3 separate regions of the Homo sapiens genome follow, and all the other regions are linked to region 1. Evidence: promoter capture Hi-C in human tissues and cell types (Jung and others, 2019). All regions are on one chromosome and are shown on one strand. The core of a region is centred on a gene start or on the middle of the fragment in contact, and the rest is flanking DNA. Distances in the headings are between cores, read along the strand shown. Region 1 holds the start of PTGDR (prostaglandin D2 receptor). Region 2 overlaps LOC101927598 (a long non-coding RNA gene). Region 3 overlaps GPR137C (G protein-coupled receptor 137C).

What was found. The method cuts DNA at HindIII sites, captures the fragments that hold promoters and counts their contacts. A contact is called where the count stands out against the background at its distance.
Region 2: a contact is called between a fragment that was not itself captured here and the fragment with the promoter of PTGDR in region 1, in 1 of the 25 tissues and cell types used here (mesenchymal stem cells).
Region 3: a fragment that was not itself captured here is called in contact with the fragment with the promoter of PTGDR in region 1 in 1 of the 25 tissues and cell types used here (mesenchymal stem cells).

Annotation. Positions count from the first base shown.
Region 1 is chr14:52,265,586-52,270,706 of GRCh38, reverse strand. It overlaps PTGDR (prostaglandin D2 receptor), which reads right to left and starts at 3,009. Exons shown (of 2, transcript NM_000953.3): 1 at 2,047-3,009. The coding sequence starts at 2,892. The HindIII fragment of the contact is 10,952 bases long and covers 1-5,121 here.
Region 2 is chr14:51,816,077-51,821,197 of GRCh38, reverse strand. LOC101927598 (a long non-coding RNA gene) reads right to left here. Exons shown (of 8, transcript XR_002957605.2): 4 at 4,162-5,121; 5 at 2,916-3,149; 6 at 1,074-2,365. Among named protein-coding and RNA genes, the nearest start is that of GNG2, 42 kb to the left of the region's middle. RefSeq lists an enhancer at 4,694-5,121. The HindIII fragment of the contact is 6,488 bases long and covers 1-5,121 here.
Region 3 is chr14:52,554,317-52,559,437 of GRCh38, reverse strand. The region is part of intron 1 of GPR137C (G protein-coupled receptor 137C); the gene reads right to left. Among named protein-coding and RNA genes, the nearest start is that of GPR137C, 4.0 kb to the right of the region's middle. The HindIII fragment of the contact is 3,807 bases long and covers 1,300-5,106 here.

The DNA.
Region 1 (5,121 bases), core at 1,760-4,259:
TAAAGATTGTATAAAGGACCAGATAGTAACTATTTTAGGTTTTATGGCCAAGAGACAAAATCATAAATATTTGATAGGTACTAATATAACATGGGAGAAAACACATTTCCACAATTTTTTGATGGAATTCAAAATGTATTAATAATTGAGTACAATTTTTTTTTTAGATGGAGTCTTGCTCTGTCGCCCAGGCTGGAGTGCAGTGACACAGTCTTGGCTCACTGCAACCTCTGCCTCCCAGGTTCAAGCGATTCTCCTGCCTCAGCCTCCTGAGAAGCTGGGACTACAAGTGCATGCCACCACGCCCAGGTAATTTTTGTATTTTTAGAGACGGGGTTTCACCATGTTGGCCAGGATGGTCTCGATCTCTTGACCTCATGATCTGCCCGCCTCGGCCTCCCAAAGTGCTGTGATTACAGGCGTGAGTCACCGCTCCCGGCTGAGTACAATTTTTTTGTAATATGTATCTACTAAGGAGAAGAATAAAACGTTTTCTTGGAACAGTATTTTTCTTGAAATAGTATTTGGCTCAATTGAAGCTCAAAACTCTTGGGTCTCATCAAATTGATTGCAGAGATTCATTTGTAAGAATTATTCTTAACTCCAGGGAGATGTAAAACAGTGGCCAGGAAAGATTTGGCCTGTGAGCTGTGGTTTGCTAACTCCTGTTTTAGAGTGTGATTCTACAAATGTGAACCCTGAATCTGAGCTTGCATATCACCTGGGAACTTGTTAAGAATGAAAATTCTTTAAAAATGTCTGAATTAGAAACTCTGGGGAATGGGGTCCAGCCATCTTTTTTTCTAGAAGCCTTGCTGGTGATTCTGAGCTGGTGATTCTGAAGACCACTGCTATATGTCATCTGCGCCTATATCTACATTTAGATAGATATAGATTTATGTATTTGTTTATTTATTTTGGGGGCATACTGTTCCCACCCCTGCATGCTGATGCCCCAGACTTCTTTTTCCGCAAGCAGTAAGGCCTTCATTTAAAGGAAAATCGCTTTGTATTTCCCTTTCATTCACCATTGAAAGTAATATCCAAAATGGCTACATTCTGAGAAGAAATTTAACAACTTTCCTATTCACAGAAGTCTCAGGATTTCGAGAACGTGGGATTGGCAATGGAATTTCTGTAAGTATTGTTTTTGTTGAACAGGTACCTTGGGAGAAAGGAGAGGAGCAGCACTGAAAATGTTTCCTCAAGCCTCACCTACTCCCAGGTGTCTTGGCGGGGACTCCAGGAACAAATGCCTTCAAAATGAGGAGATAATTTCATTTCCATCGCTATCCTCATTACCAAATTGAAACCGGAGATAATGGCTTTCATGTCACCTCACTTGCCAAGATACACTCAAAACCCGTCAAGTCAGGTTGTCAAAACGACACCAGCAGCTAAAACATACAAAGAGCCTCGGCCTCCATCGCCACAATCCCTGGCGGATGCAGCACCAGAAACAGCAGCCGTGGCGTCTCAAAGTTTACGCACGCGTTTTTCAAAATTAAAACTATGCATCTGCAAATCACTCTGGCTGGCTTAAACCTCTTTTTCCCTTTCTATGCCAACACCGGGGAGAAGATCGTCCCAGACGCCATTCGCCCATTTCTGATACCACTGAAGTCATGAGCAGGTCTAACAAAATAAAACATCACCCAGCCGTCGGGAAGTAGAAGACTCCTGTTGCCAAGGAGAAACTAAGTTCTGCTCCTCCTAAGGCGCAAAAATGACCTCGAGATCTCCCCAGAAGGAAGCAGAGAGGAGGGAGTTCTGCCACATGGAGAGGGTTTTGCTGGGCTAGGGAGACACCGCCGGGCTCAGCCTTTCCCTTCCTTTCTCTAACTTTCCCTCATTTCGCTCCGCAAACTGAGTTATATCTCGGGGCTGTGGAAGGAATCCAATTTGGGGAACTCAGCAGCAAACCTTCCTGGCCCAGGGCGCAGCTCGCCTGGCGCCGCGTCCATCCCGATCCGCTCCACCCTTCCCGCCCCGCATCCGCGGCCGGACAGTCTCAGTGCCCTGCTGCCTCGGGGCCCGGGGACTCACAATTACGGGCAGAGAACACATAGTGAAGAGCACGGTCATCAGCGCCAGCAGCAGGAGGTGATCCAGCTCCTCCAGGGGCTGAGGGGACGCTTCCCTCCCGTCCGCGCGCGGCTCGGCACAGTCCCTGGTGCAGGAGCGCGGGTGCCGCTGCAGCCGCCGGTGCATCGCATAGAGGTTGCGCATGGCGCCGAGGTTGCACAGCACGGTGGCGAGGACCAGCAGCGCCATGAGGCTGGAGTAGAGCACAGAGTACCCCAGCACCGACAGCGAGCCCTCCTCGTGGACCATCTGGATAAAGCACCAGGTGCCGGGGCAGTACTGCACGAACTTCCCGAAGCCCATGAAAGGTAGCGCGCAGAAAGCCAGGGAGAAGGCGCTCACCACCGGGGCCACCAGTGCGCCCAGGCGCAGGGTGATGTGCCGTCGGTAGAAGAAAGGGTGCCCTAGGGAGAGCCAGCACTCCAGTGCCATGGCCAGGAGTTGCAGTGTCGAGGAGAGCCCAAAGAAGGACATGAAGAAGGCGAAGGCTTGGCACAACGAGTTGTCCAATGCGGGCGCAAGCACCCGCAGACTCCGGTTCTGAGCGTAGGCAGCCAGCACCACCGGGCTTAGGAGGCACTTGCCCAGCAAGTCGGTGACCGTCAGGCCACACACCAGCATGTAGAAGACCGAGGGCAGCGGGCGCAGTGGACGCCGCGAGCACCACCCCAGCCCCGAGCGCGCCAGCAGCCCCAGGGCCAGCAGGTTGCCCAGGAGGCCGGTGCTGAAGAGCACCCCGCCCATCACCGCCGAGTTGCCTTTTTCCACAGAGGTGGTGTTCTGGCAGCGGTAGAACGGCGACTTCATGGCGTGCGGGAGCAGAGGGCTGGAGTGAAGGCTGCGGAAGGGCGAGGGCCCCGGCGCCCGGGTGCTAAGGAGCCCCCGGCAGCTCCGCGCGCGGCTCGGGCGGAGAAGCTGCGCCACAGAAAAAGCTCCGAGGGCGGCGGGGTGTTCCCCACGGCAGGAACCTCCTATCTAAACTCGCGGGTCACACCCCTCTTTGAGAGGCGGGACGCTCTGCAGGGTGAGCGCCTGGCGCTGGCATTGAAGAGCGCGGAGCAGGCCAGTGAAGAGCTCGGCCCTGACGCGCTGCGTTCTCAGTAGAGACAGACTCTGGTGCCGAGTCGGAACGGCAGGAGGAAAATAGCCAGAATTCCAAGCACCCAACACCAGTCCTTCTAGCGAGGCAAGAGAAGAACTACTAAAGTGGAGGGGAAATTAAGCAGCAGCCACCTGAGAGGAGGGCAATGGTGCTGGTGTTTGAACTGGGGTGGCCAAGAACTCGAAAGATGAGCGAAGAGGGGAGGCTGAGAAAGGGCTTCTACCTAGTTGTCTTGAATTAGCTAGTCAAGGAAAGGTAAAGATAACTCACGTCTGGAAAGCCCCTGAGCCTTAGCTCCTCTTCTCTACTAGATCAGCGCAATTTGGGGCATTCACGGTCATCTCCATTGCATAGGCGAGGAAACTGAGGCCTTGGAAAGTTAAGTGATCTGCCCGTGGTGACAGAGCTACAGAAGTAGCAGAGCCGGACCTCTCACCCGATCTTCTATTTTGGAGTTCATCTGTCCTGTTCCCATGACTCCTCCTCCCAAGAAGTTGTCCAGATTTCAGGGAAGTGGTTTGTGGGAAAGCCAAGAGCCGGTGTTGGTCCTGGGTGCCATGAATCACATTGACTGTAGAGAGCTGGGGGGAAGGGCATGGTTAGCAGCACTGTTGCTGTCATCAGATAGGCCTGGGTTTGAGTCCAGGTTCTGCTCCTCACTGTGTGTGTGACCTTATGGGACTTGCTTAGCCTCTCAAGCAGTAACATCTATCTGGCCTGCTTGGCTCTTCTGAGGCATAGAAATAACACGTAAAGAGCAAGTACATAGAAAGTGCTCAATTCATGCAATCACCATGATTCTTATTTGATAGAAGGGTGTTTTGGTAGCTGATGTTTAACTGCAGTTTTTAGCATGGATTTTGAAATCAGAAAATGGTAGATTTGGCATAGAGCTTTCTCACTCCTCTGATTTGTGGCTACTAGAAAAAATTTATTCCTGTTTGGGCTTTGACTTGGCTGCATCATAAAGGCAAGGGAGTTAATTGTGATAAGCGTGATTTTATATCTTTAACTAGCATTCGATGCCCTGTGAGAGAAATTGGCTTTGAGTGTGGAATCTCAGTGGGATGACTAAGGTTTTGTTATGTAAGTGAGTAGATGATGCCTGGGCTTGAAACGGCTCATTTTTAGGCCTCATGCCAGTTCTGATGGACAGACTCAGGGAAAGAGCAAGACCCTTGGGATTTAGATGTGAAAGCCTGAAGGGTAGACAGAGAGGCTGCCTCCAGACTGAAAGTCTGGCCAGTAATTCAGGCCACAGGGTGGAAAAGAAGAATCTAAGCTTGGAATTAGATAGTTCTGAACTCCACCACTGGCTGTGTGACCCTGGGTTAGTTGTTCAACCTAATGGAATATGAGACTTATGCTGAACTTGTGGGGTTGTTGTGAGGTTGAGAAAACTTGAAGTGCTTTGGCATAGTGTAATAATAATAATAAGAGCTAATATTTATTGGTCCTGATGCAGGTTGGACACTCTCTAAGCCTTTCACTTATATTGACTCAATAGAAGGCCTTGTATAGAGTTAGTTCCCTTGTCTTCTACCTACTCTCTCTCATTCCCATCTCTAGCCCCTAGCACATAAGAATGGGTTTAGAAGAGCCCCACTCGACTTAATGAAGTGAAAGGAAGAGCAGGCCCCATAACCAAAAGACATGAGAATTTGATGAAAGCTGTGGTCTCCTCCATAGACAGACAGACACACACACACACACAGGCACACACACACAGACACACACGCAGACACACACACACACACTTTACATCAATCTCAGGCTGTTCACCATTTCCTGAAGCCCTTCTATGGTACCCAGAGGAGACCCAATGGACACTAGCTTAAGAATCCTTCCTCTAAAAATATTGCATGGGTTGTTCTTCTGAAGCATACCTACTTCAATTCTTTGCAGCTTTATTTTCATGCTACAGTGGCTTACAA
Region 2 (5,121 bases), core at 868-3,367, 450 kb after region 1:
TATGGAAAATGCTTAACAGTTCTATAAAAAGTAATATCCCAAAGGGCATAAATAATTTATTATATAAAGCCAATTTATAAATGACAATTTAAAAATGCTGAAGTCTTCAATCACATTTTAAGTGAAAAACAAAAATTAAAGCAATGGTCAGATGGGATTTTTTTTTTAAAGATTTGTAAGTCGGATAGTAACTTCCTAGTGTTGGGGGAGAGAGTTCAGTGAGAAATACCTTCTTCTATGCGGTGGGAGGACAAACTGATAAAAACTTTCTGGAAGGCATCCATCTATTTTGACAATATATATCAAATGTCTTTTAAATATTCACATAATTTGACAGATTAATTCCACTACCAGAAATTTACATTATGAAACACAGACATGTATACATAAGGATGTTATTTGCAACAACTTGTAACAAATTGGAAACAGCCTGAAAGTCCAACGTTTGAGGAGTAGTTGAATAAACTATGGAATAACCATAAAATGGAGTTTTATGCAATTATTACAAGTTATTTGGGAAATATTTTAAATTGCACAAGAAAATGTTTCTAATTTCATAATGCCTGAAGGAATCTGCAGCAGTATAAAATGTAGTTCAGTTATGGAAAATGCATTTTAGAGAGTATAATAAACTTGTAAAATATTAATAACGGTACTTCTGAGGAGTGGGATTATAATTGTTATTTACTCTTTATGCTTTCTGTATTTATCAAATTATCTCCCATCCATAGCCATCTGTTGTTTAAGAAGGAACAAAAACATTTTTCATAATAATACAATAAATATTTAACAATATAAAAAAATTAGGATATTCTTAGCAGAAAAGCAGGATTCAAAATAAGCGTAGACCAGGCACAGTGGCTCCTGCCTGTAACCCCGGCACTTTGGGAAGCTAAGGCAGGAGGATTGCTTGAGGCTAGAAGTTGGTGGCTGCAATGATTGTGTCACTGCATTCCAGCCTGGCCAACAGAGCAAGACCCTGTCTCAAACTAATAATAATAACTAATGATAATAATAATTGCAGTATGACTGACACATGCAATCTATACATGGGGGATTCTGGGATGACTCACTGGCTTCTGGCTTATGAATGCTGGTTTCCTTTAAAAAGAGAGAAATTCCATTTTGGGGTGAGAGACTGTCTCCTGTATTGACCATGTTGAGTTCGGTGTACCTGCAGGATATGTGAGTGAAGATGTCTCAAGTTGTGTAAGGTTTGAAAGACAGAGAGAGAGAGAGAGAGAGAGAGAGAGAGAGAGATCTGGGCTAGAGGCAAAAGCAGAGATGTGAGCTGTAAATTTGAATGAAGGACCAGATAGAACGTAGAAAGTGGAAAATGGAACCTAGAGCTTTGGACAGGGCTCAAAGGAAAACAAGCATTTAAAGAAGAGGCGCCTGATAAGAAACCCCCAAAGAAAAAACACACAGGGGAGAGTGGGGTGCAGATGTCAAGGCAGAGAGAGCTGCAGTTAATGGTGCCAAGTGCCATGGCGAGTGCAGAGAATAGAACTGAAGTGCACTGCGGGGCTCAGAGCATCTGTTAAATCTATGTGAGGAGAAAACAAGGCAGGAAGCCAGCTGGAGAGATGGGGAAGAAGACAGGGTTGCGGGGAAGGTGGGGTGTTGGGATTGTTAAGGTCCAGGCACGTTCCACTAAAGTCAAGAGGAAACCCACCATGTGCCAGGGATTAGGGTAATGGTATAAAGGAAAGACATATATATTTTCTGCCCTGACTGAATTTAAAATGTTATGAGAAACACAGGAACACCCAAATAATGACCTACTTGTCTATCAACTTCTTCCAAAGTTAATTTATGGTCACAAAATGTAAAATGTCAACAGAATGGCGGCCAGCAACAGATGCCTGGCCATCTGAAACCTGAGCTGAGAGCCCACCCAAACTCACATAATGTCATTGTCAAAGAGGTGCTGTCCTCTGTCACATCCAGTCACACCTCAACTGTTCTGCACCAGACCCATTTAATATTCTCTATCCCCAGCCGCTCTGGATCCCTGCCAGGACAATATTGTCATCCAAGAGCTCTGTCTGACACATTGATCTGTGCTCTGAACAGAAAAGTGGTGTCCACTTAAAGGACAAGTAGACACAGATCTGCTCACTGCAGGTGTGCCTGCCATGATTTCTGGAAGCTTTCTTGGAACTGAAGTGAGCCCAGTAATGCAGCCAGGCTGTGACGCAGCAGGCAGGTAGACAAGATGTGGGTGTGGGTATAGGCAGCTGCAACTTCCCTTCCATTGTGATGCTTCTGAGCGCCCGTAATAGTCGTTTGCATACTGCTCTTGGTACTGACATCAGGTTGTAGTTGCGGGGTATGTTTTTCCTTCCCATGTAAATAGTTGACCCTTGTAAGGAAGAGAAATTAAATCTACTTTTGCATATGCCCCTCAGATTCCAGCACATTTTACGTAGCGTTGTATACAGCCCATACCCCTTTTCCCCTTTTTCCTGCTTTGAATCCAGACATGATGTATGAACTTGAAGCCCACCTTGGAACCACAAGGTCACAAGCATGAGGGAAAGGTCAAGAGCCTCACCACGTTGCTGACCATGACATCATCAAGCCACTGAATCTGTGCCAGCAGCGAGCTAGGGCAATAATTTATATTATGAGAGAGAAATAATTTTTTGGCTTAAGCCACTTGTAAGTCAGGTTTTCTGTTTCCTGCAACTAAATGTAAGCTACCCAGCCAGCATCCACTCCCCTGACTTCCACACTAGAAGAACCCCAATTTGTTCAGCACTCCATGCCTTCTTCACTCAGCTAGGTGCCTCAGGTGACACTGACCCCATCTCTAGCTTGGGGGTGGCATTGATGGCCAAGGGTAATTTAATTTCATTTTCCTTGCCAGTATCCAATTAAGGAACCAATGAAGCATGGAGGGAGGGTGAAACCTGATGGGCATCGGGGACAAGGTTCCCACGATACAGCAGCAATAAGAGTCTCTTTCGTCTTCCTGTGAGTATTGTCGTGTCCAGCTGGAACTGTTGCATCCTACTTCCCTGAGGACGAGGCTGACATAAAAGATGGTGGGGTGAAGAGGCAAAAATAAGCTGGATCCTTGTTGACATTCTTGCTCTGTGGAATCAGCCAGCCTTGATGCCTGTGTAGCCCCTGCATGTCCTGTTCTGCAACAATGTAAATTTATTTTTATTTACTTCTTTTTGAGACAGGGTCTTACTCTGCCTGGAGTGCAGTAGTATGATCACGGCTTACTGCAGCGTCAACCTCTTGGGCTCAGCCGAAACTCCCACCTCAGCCTCCCAAGTAGCTGGGATCACAGATGTGCACCACCACACACAGATAATTTTTCAATTTTTTGCAGGGATGGTGGTCTCCCTATGTTGCCCAGGCTGGTCCCGAACTCCTAGGCTCAAGCAGTCCTCCCACCTCGGCCTCCCAAAGTGCTGGGATTACAAGCATGAGCCACCACACCCTGCCAAATTCTTTATTTTTTAATCCAGTTCAAGTTGAAGTTTTTGTTACTCACCCCTGAAAGTATATTTACAGAAAACGAAGATACAGAGAATGGTTTAGCCTAAAATGTGTCCTGAAGCAAATGTTCATTTTACCCTGGCCAATCTGACCCAACTAGAAAAATGCTCTGATTTATTAAACTTGTGTCCCTAAGTAGGGTACAGAGATCAAGCCAATAATCACAGATTATCTTCCCTCTCATGGGACCTTAGGGTAAATGAGCCAATGAAAAATAATATTCTTGCTTCCGATAAGACTTGAGGAAGAGAGAACAGTGGATTGTTTCATAATAGGAGCTGGGGCTGCTGCAGTTGGTATTTCATAGGCTGATATCCTCCATGCCCTCCAACCCTCTCCCAGTCCCTTCTGGGACTATAAAGGTAAAGACCCCTGTGCATGCTGTGCATGGTCTGTGGTTGGCAGGAGCCATTGTTTCTGTGTCTCTGAATAACTTTGTCCCAATGAGATGTGGCGGTTTTATTTAGCTGTAAAAAGGACTCAAAACTATGTGTTTAATGGATAAGGCCGTGGCCGGGGGGAGGGGGAGGGGGGGCTCAGCAAGTGGCTTAACCCATTGTCTTAGAAATGGCTAAGTACCATTTCTATCTCTTCTTCTGTCCTCCCTCCCCAGTTATATCCAATAAATTGTCCTCTTTTTCTTACCTAAGTGCTCACTGTAGAATATGGCTGAACTACGCAGGTGGTCCAGGGAGACTTGGAGCAGCCTGTCTGAGGTCACTGAATAATCCCAGAAACACATCCACAAAACTGAGCCAATACTATAAGCACAGAACATTTTTAGAAGCTGTGGGACAGAGGAAGGCCCTTCCCAAGATATTGCTTCGGGACCCAGAATTTAAACATTCACCATTGGCTCCGGTCATGCAGGCTGTCACATGCTCCTGAAAAGATGGCTGCGTGAGTCCTTCATCATTGCTATTGATACGGGAGGGGGCAGGGAGGTGCTGGGTAGAGAAGGATGGGGTCCCTGGCCAGGGCTCCACCCTCAGGCCTGTGCCCACGGACCTAAGTGAGGACAGGCATTCCTGTTTTCACGCCCAAAAGTTGCATTTTCCAAGACCACCCTGGCCCGCCACAACCCCCCGCCATCCCATGCCCATAGAAACCCGAGAGACCCTAGTGGGCACATGTACAAGCAGCTGGGCGTCGAGAGGAACACACTCGCAGAAAAACACTAGCAGGCCATCGACGGTGGAACCACGCAGACGCTGAGGGAAATTTGGCAGAGGGCAGTCAGAAGCAAGCCCAGCCACTGAGCGGCCTGACTCCAGGGGAAGACCCCTTCCCACTCCATCCCTCTTCCGGCTTCCCATCCATCTGCTAAGAGCTACTTCCACCACTCAATAAAACCTTGCACTCATTCTCCAAGCCCATGTATGATCAGATTTTTCCAGTACACTAGGCAAGAACCCCAGGATACAAAAAGCCCTCTGTCCTTGCGATAAGGCAGAGGGTCTAATTGAGCTGATTAATACAAGCCGCCTGCGGATGGCTAAGCTGAAAAAGCACGCTGCAACACACGCTCACCGGGGCTTCGAAAACTGTAAACACTCAACCCTAGACGCTGCGGTGGGGTTGGAGCCCACGCTCCCTACTACCTGC
Region 3 (5,121 bases), core at 1,954-4,453, 290 kb before region 1:
ACACTACACATATGGCTTTTATCACATTGATTTTGAAGGTTTTTTGTTTTTGTTTTTGAGATGGAGTCTTGCTCTGTCGCCAGGCTAGAGTGCAGTGGTGTGATCTCGGTTCACTGCAACTTCCACCTCCCAGGTTCAAATGATTCTCCTGCCTTCTCTCTCTCTTCCCGGGTAGCTGGAACTACAGGCGCGTGCCACCATGCTGGGCTAATTTTTTATATTTTTAGTAGAGACGGGGTTTCACCATGTTAGCCAGGAGGGTCTCGATCTCCTGACCTTGTATCTGCCTGCCTTGGCCTCCCAAAGTGCTGGGATTAGAGGCGTGAGCCACTGCACCAGGTCAGTGTTTTCAAGTGTACTTTAAATATGTTTTCACAAAGCCCACCTTGGATTTGTTGGGCTTTCTGGATCTGAAACTTGGATGTCTTTAATAAATTTGCGTAAACTCTTATTTTCCCTTTGAATAATTTCTCTATAATTCCAATTACACATATGTTGGACCTGCTCATTATATCCTCATTCTCTCTTCACCCATTGGTTGTATCTTCCATCTTTTATTTCTCTGGGCTATATCCCGAGTGATTTTTTTTCCTAAGATCTTCTAGTTCACTTATTTCTTTTTAACTGTGTTTAATCTGTTTAACCATCCATTTCAGTTTTTAATTTTTTCATTAAAAAATGATTTCCAAATGTGCCAATTTTTTGTATTTCAACAGTGTTTAATTCATAAATGATTAATTATTGTGTACTATGTATTTAATAATTCTGACATCTGCAATTCCCCAGTGTGATTTTTTATTCTGAACCCATGTTTTTTGGAATTTTATCTGTCAGAAGTCTGGGTTTAAAGTACATTCTTCCACAGATGCTTTGCATCTGCTTCTTACAGCTCCTTGAGGTTAGTATCAAGCAAGGATAACTTTATGTTTTCAAGTTAGATCTCCTGAAACCCCCCAGTCTGCTCCTCTCAATCACAGAACTGATGTGAATTTAGGCTTCAAACTTGTGCAAGAATGAGCTTATTTTGCATTCCCAGGGAAGACTTATTTACCAATTTGTACCCCCTATCTAGCTCTGAGGACCTGCTTATTTTCCTAGCTGATCCACTGAAGGTGTACACTTAAAGGATTCTGGCATTATGCTGGAGGGGATGAAGTCTTTTATAAGACCTCACTGCAAGGCACAGCCTGCAACGACACCTCCCTACACCTTCAACACACAAAATTAAAATCTGGGCAGTAGGCTAACAGGAGGCAGCTGAAAACCACTCCTGCCCTACCCCCAAGACACACATTTGTGTGATATTTTATCATTCTGCATTTTTTTTTTTTTTTGGTAGTTTCTGGCCTTTTCTTGCCAGCCCAATTATGCACTGAAAAAGACTGACTACTCTCTGCAGCATTTCTCTGAATCTCTGGTAGGCCAGATGACCTGGCTTCTACTTCTTTAAACCAAGAGTCATATGCAGTGGATGAAAGGTGAAGAAAGAGTTTGCTAGACAGTGGAAAAGGTTTGAAACCATGTGAAAAACGGGAAAGCAAGTTAGAAAAGCACTATTAAAGAAGTGATGTATCCAGGAAAGTTCATGGTATAGAAACAAATTACTTGATAAGACTTCATAGCACCTGAGCTATACAATAGTATCACAACTGATACATATTAGCCATTTAATTTTGGACAAATCACATCTCTTTCTATTTCATGGGGGTTGTGAAGACAAATGTTACAAAGTGCTTTGAAAATACCAATTTCATAAAATATAAGGCATTATAATCATGTCTTTTGTTACAGGTATGTATCTGAAACTTCGGCTTCACAGATGATTTCAGGAGAAATAAGATCAAGATAGTGAAAAAATTTAGTAGATTCAGACAAAAACAGTTTATAGTCAGTTATGGATAAAAGTCAAACATTGAACTAAACCAGTATTTCTGGTAAACAGTAACTGACTCAGGATATGAGACTCATCTTACAGACTTTTCTATTTTGTAGAATTTGTTGAAACTAAATTAGCAAAGCCTTAATTAGTATGGGCCATTTGCCATGATATAAAAAGTTTCATTAAACAAAACTCTATATTGTATGAAATCTTTTAGGCAGAAAATAGATTCCAGACAATACATAATTTACCTCAAATGTTCATCAAAATAAAGTTAACCCCCATATTTTAGATAACTATTTTCTAAATTTTGACCTTTTTATAAAGTGTCATTCAATAATATAATCATCATTGTTCTAGTTGCTGGAGATAAAAATATGTAAAATATTCCTTCTTATCCTCAAGGAATTTCTATTTTAGGTGGTAGAAATGTGATTTCAACTTTTGTGGGAAATCAAAGAACAGAACAAAATCAAATGAACCTGTAAGTTGACTTGCATGTTATTTGAAGTATTACCAATATAAGAATATATCTACTGGTAGGGACAATAATAGCATCCATAAATGTAAGAGTTAAGATTTTGAATTTAATTTTCCTATCTGTTTTGGCATTGTAATTAAGTCACTGTACTTTATCCTGATTAAGCAACTGGCACTCCTAAGACCAAACTGAAAGTAAGAACTTCAATATGTTGAAGATGAACTCATTGATTTTGGCATGCATCACAACACTCCAAGATGGTATACCATCAACTCTCATTAAAAAAAAAAATTTAGATTCAGGAGGTTCATGTGCAGGTTTCTTACATGGATATATTGTGTGATGCTGTCAATTCTCCTTTTAAGTCCTTCAATATGTTCTAATGGTAGATAGAATCAGTTTTATCAGATAGTCTGTTTCAAATATTGAAGTCTTCTCCGGTAAAACTCCAGGAGTGTGAACCCTTCTCTGGAAAAGCTCTTGTCCTACTGATCCTGCCAGAAGTTCAAAATGTGTTTTTAGATTAGTGTACAAGGTGGCTTTTCTTTTTTTTTTCCCCCTCTCTCTCAACTATAGGCTTCCAGGAGGTTAAGTATGAGACACTGAGAAGCTTAACTGTTTAAGAAAGGGCTACTTTCCCTCATCTCAATTCCATTCAAGTGTAGACACCAAGAAAAAAAAAAAAAGAAAAAAGGGGTTGAGGCATTTCTTAACTTTTCAAAAACATGAGTTTTAGAATATCCACCAAAATGTATTCAAAGTAGTAGAGTTTGTTTTACTTTTTATACTGATCCACGATTCTTTATAACTAAGTCCTTAAAGCTACTCTTAGTGAGAATCAGAAAAAAACAAATGCTTTAAACAAGTGAAAAGTAATATGGAATTGGTATTTAATACGGCATACAGCAAAGACAGAGTGAGTTGGTAATCAAGACACACGACTATTCAAAAAAGTTATAGGGGCTTTTGGTTAAAAAAATTAAACATCAGTTAAGTCTTATATTTATCACCACATAGGCTTTCCCTACCACTTTGCTATAATATGAAGAACTCACTAGGAAAAACTTCATTAATTCAGAATGATCAATGGGAAGTATACTTGCAGTTATCTGGAACTGACATAAAAATTTGAACTAAAATACTCTCTTAAATACAGGTTCCTGGAGATTTTCTCTAATGAAAAGAGAAATGATTTCTGGTTAAGATATCTCCTTTCAAACAGGCTTTCAAAAAATTGACAATTTGTTCTCTTAAGTACAACTGTGTCCTAAAATTGTTAATTTCATTATAAAAAGAAAGGATAGACAAACAACTCACACTCTTTTTAGCAGGCATTACAAAGGAAAAAAGCTTTATCCCAGCTTCTTTCCAAATTGTATTTTTCAGGTTAATAGAGTTTTATCGTTTTTAAAAAAGCATATTACACAAACATTTAACAGGAAGACTTTCAGATTTTAAATTCTTCCTCACTAGCTTGGAATATTAGCTCAAAGTCTGAAGACCCAATCTAGATACTCCGTGTATTCTATGCTATATAAGCATACCTTCAGAATTTTGAGCTTAAATATATCTCCTTTTTTGGATAGTGTTTACCCACTTTGTGCTTACCTGGGGGAGCTACTGACTGGGAGAGGGTAAAAAGGGAAACTTCTGGGACACGGAAAATGCTTTATATCTTAATCTGGGTGGTGGTAACATGGGTGTATACAGATATAAAATTTCATCTAGGTGTGCATTTAAGATTGTGGACTTTATTGTATATGTTATACCTCAAGAAGTAAAAAGAGTGTTTACCCACTTTATGAAATGCCTACCAACTATTTTACAGTGAATCATTCATATTATTTTGTAAATCAAAATATATAGGGAAAAAACAAGTCATCTGATGCCCCTGGCATAAAAATCGCTAGTCACTTTCAGGTAAACATCTGAACCTGGAGTAAAAGCTTCAGCGTTGAGAAGTCACTAACGCACTATCTGAAATGGTGGCAGGAAGATTACAATGTATCAGTTTAAGTATAAAGGGTAGAAGTGTTATAACAGCTTAAACGACAACTAGATTAGAACACCCTCAAATAAGTGACACGACTATGGCATCATTTGATTTGTGATAACCTATGCTTCTTATTTCCGCTTACTGGTTTGCGTTTTTGTCATTGTATTGTTTGGACTTTCAAAGGATGGAGAAGGAAAATAATAAAAGTTAAATTAGTTTTGTTGTTTTCAACTATTGTTTTTAGTGTGCTAAATAGCTGACATTATGACTGATTATAAAATTATGCATTCTACTTCCTATTAAAGGAGAAAAGAGTTGGTTTATGCAGGAAATATAAACACTTAATATACGTCATTTTTTTTTTTTTTACTTTTGCTTGGAACTACATTAATTCCATCACCTCCAAAAAAGCCTTTGAGAGGATTAGCTGCATAGGCCAATATTATTCTATATTAGTCTGTATTAAGCATATGATGTCACCTTGCTTCCTCCCCTCCTCAAGCTTTTCTTTTGGTGGGAAGGAGGACTTTTTTGGGGGAAAGTCTTAAAATATTATGGCTTAAATACCACAAGCTGACACACATGATTGACAACCTTACACTCCCAAACCTGTTTGAAATGGGTCAAATACCTAAGCGCTGCAGAACAATGCAATCCAACCAGCAATTCCCCATAAAAGAGAAAGGGGGTGTGATTAGGTTCCAGATATTAAGCAAGTTATTGCAAAAACAGTTTGGTGGTTTTGTTTCTGCAATAGGCACAGGT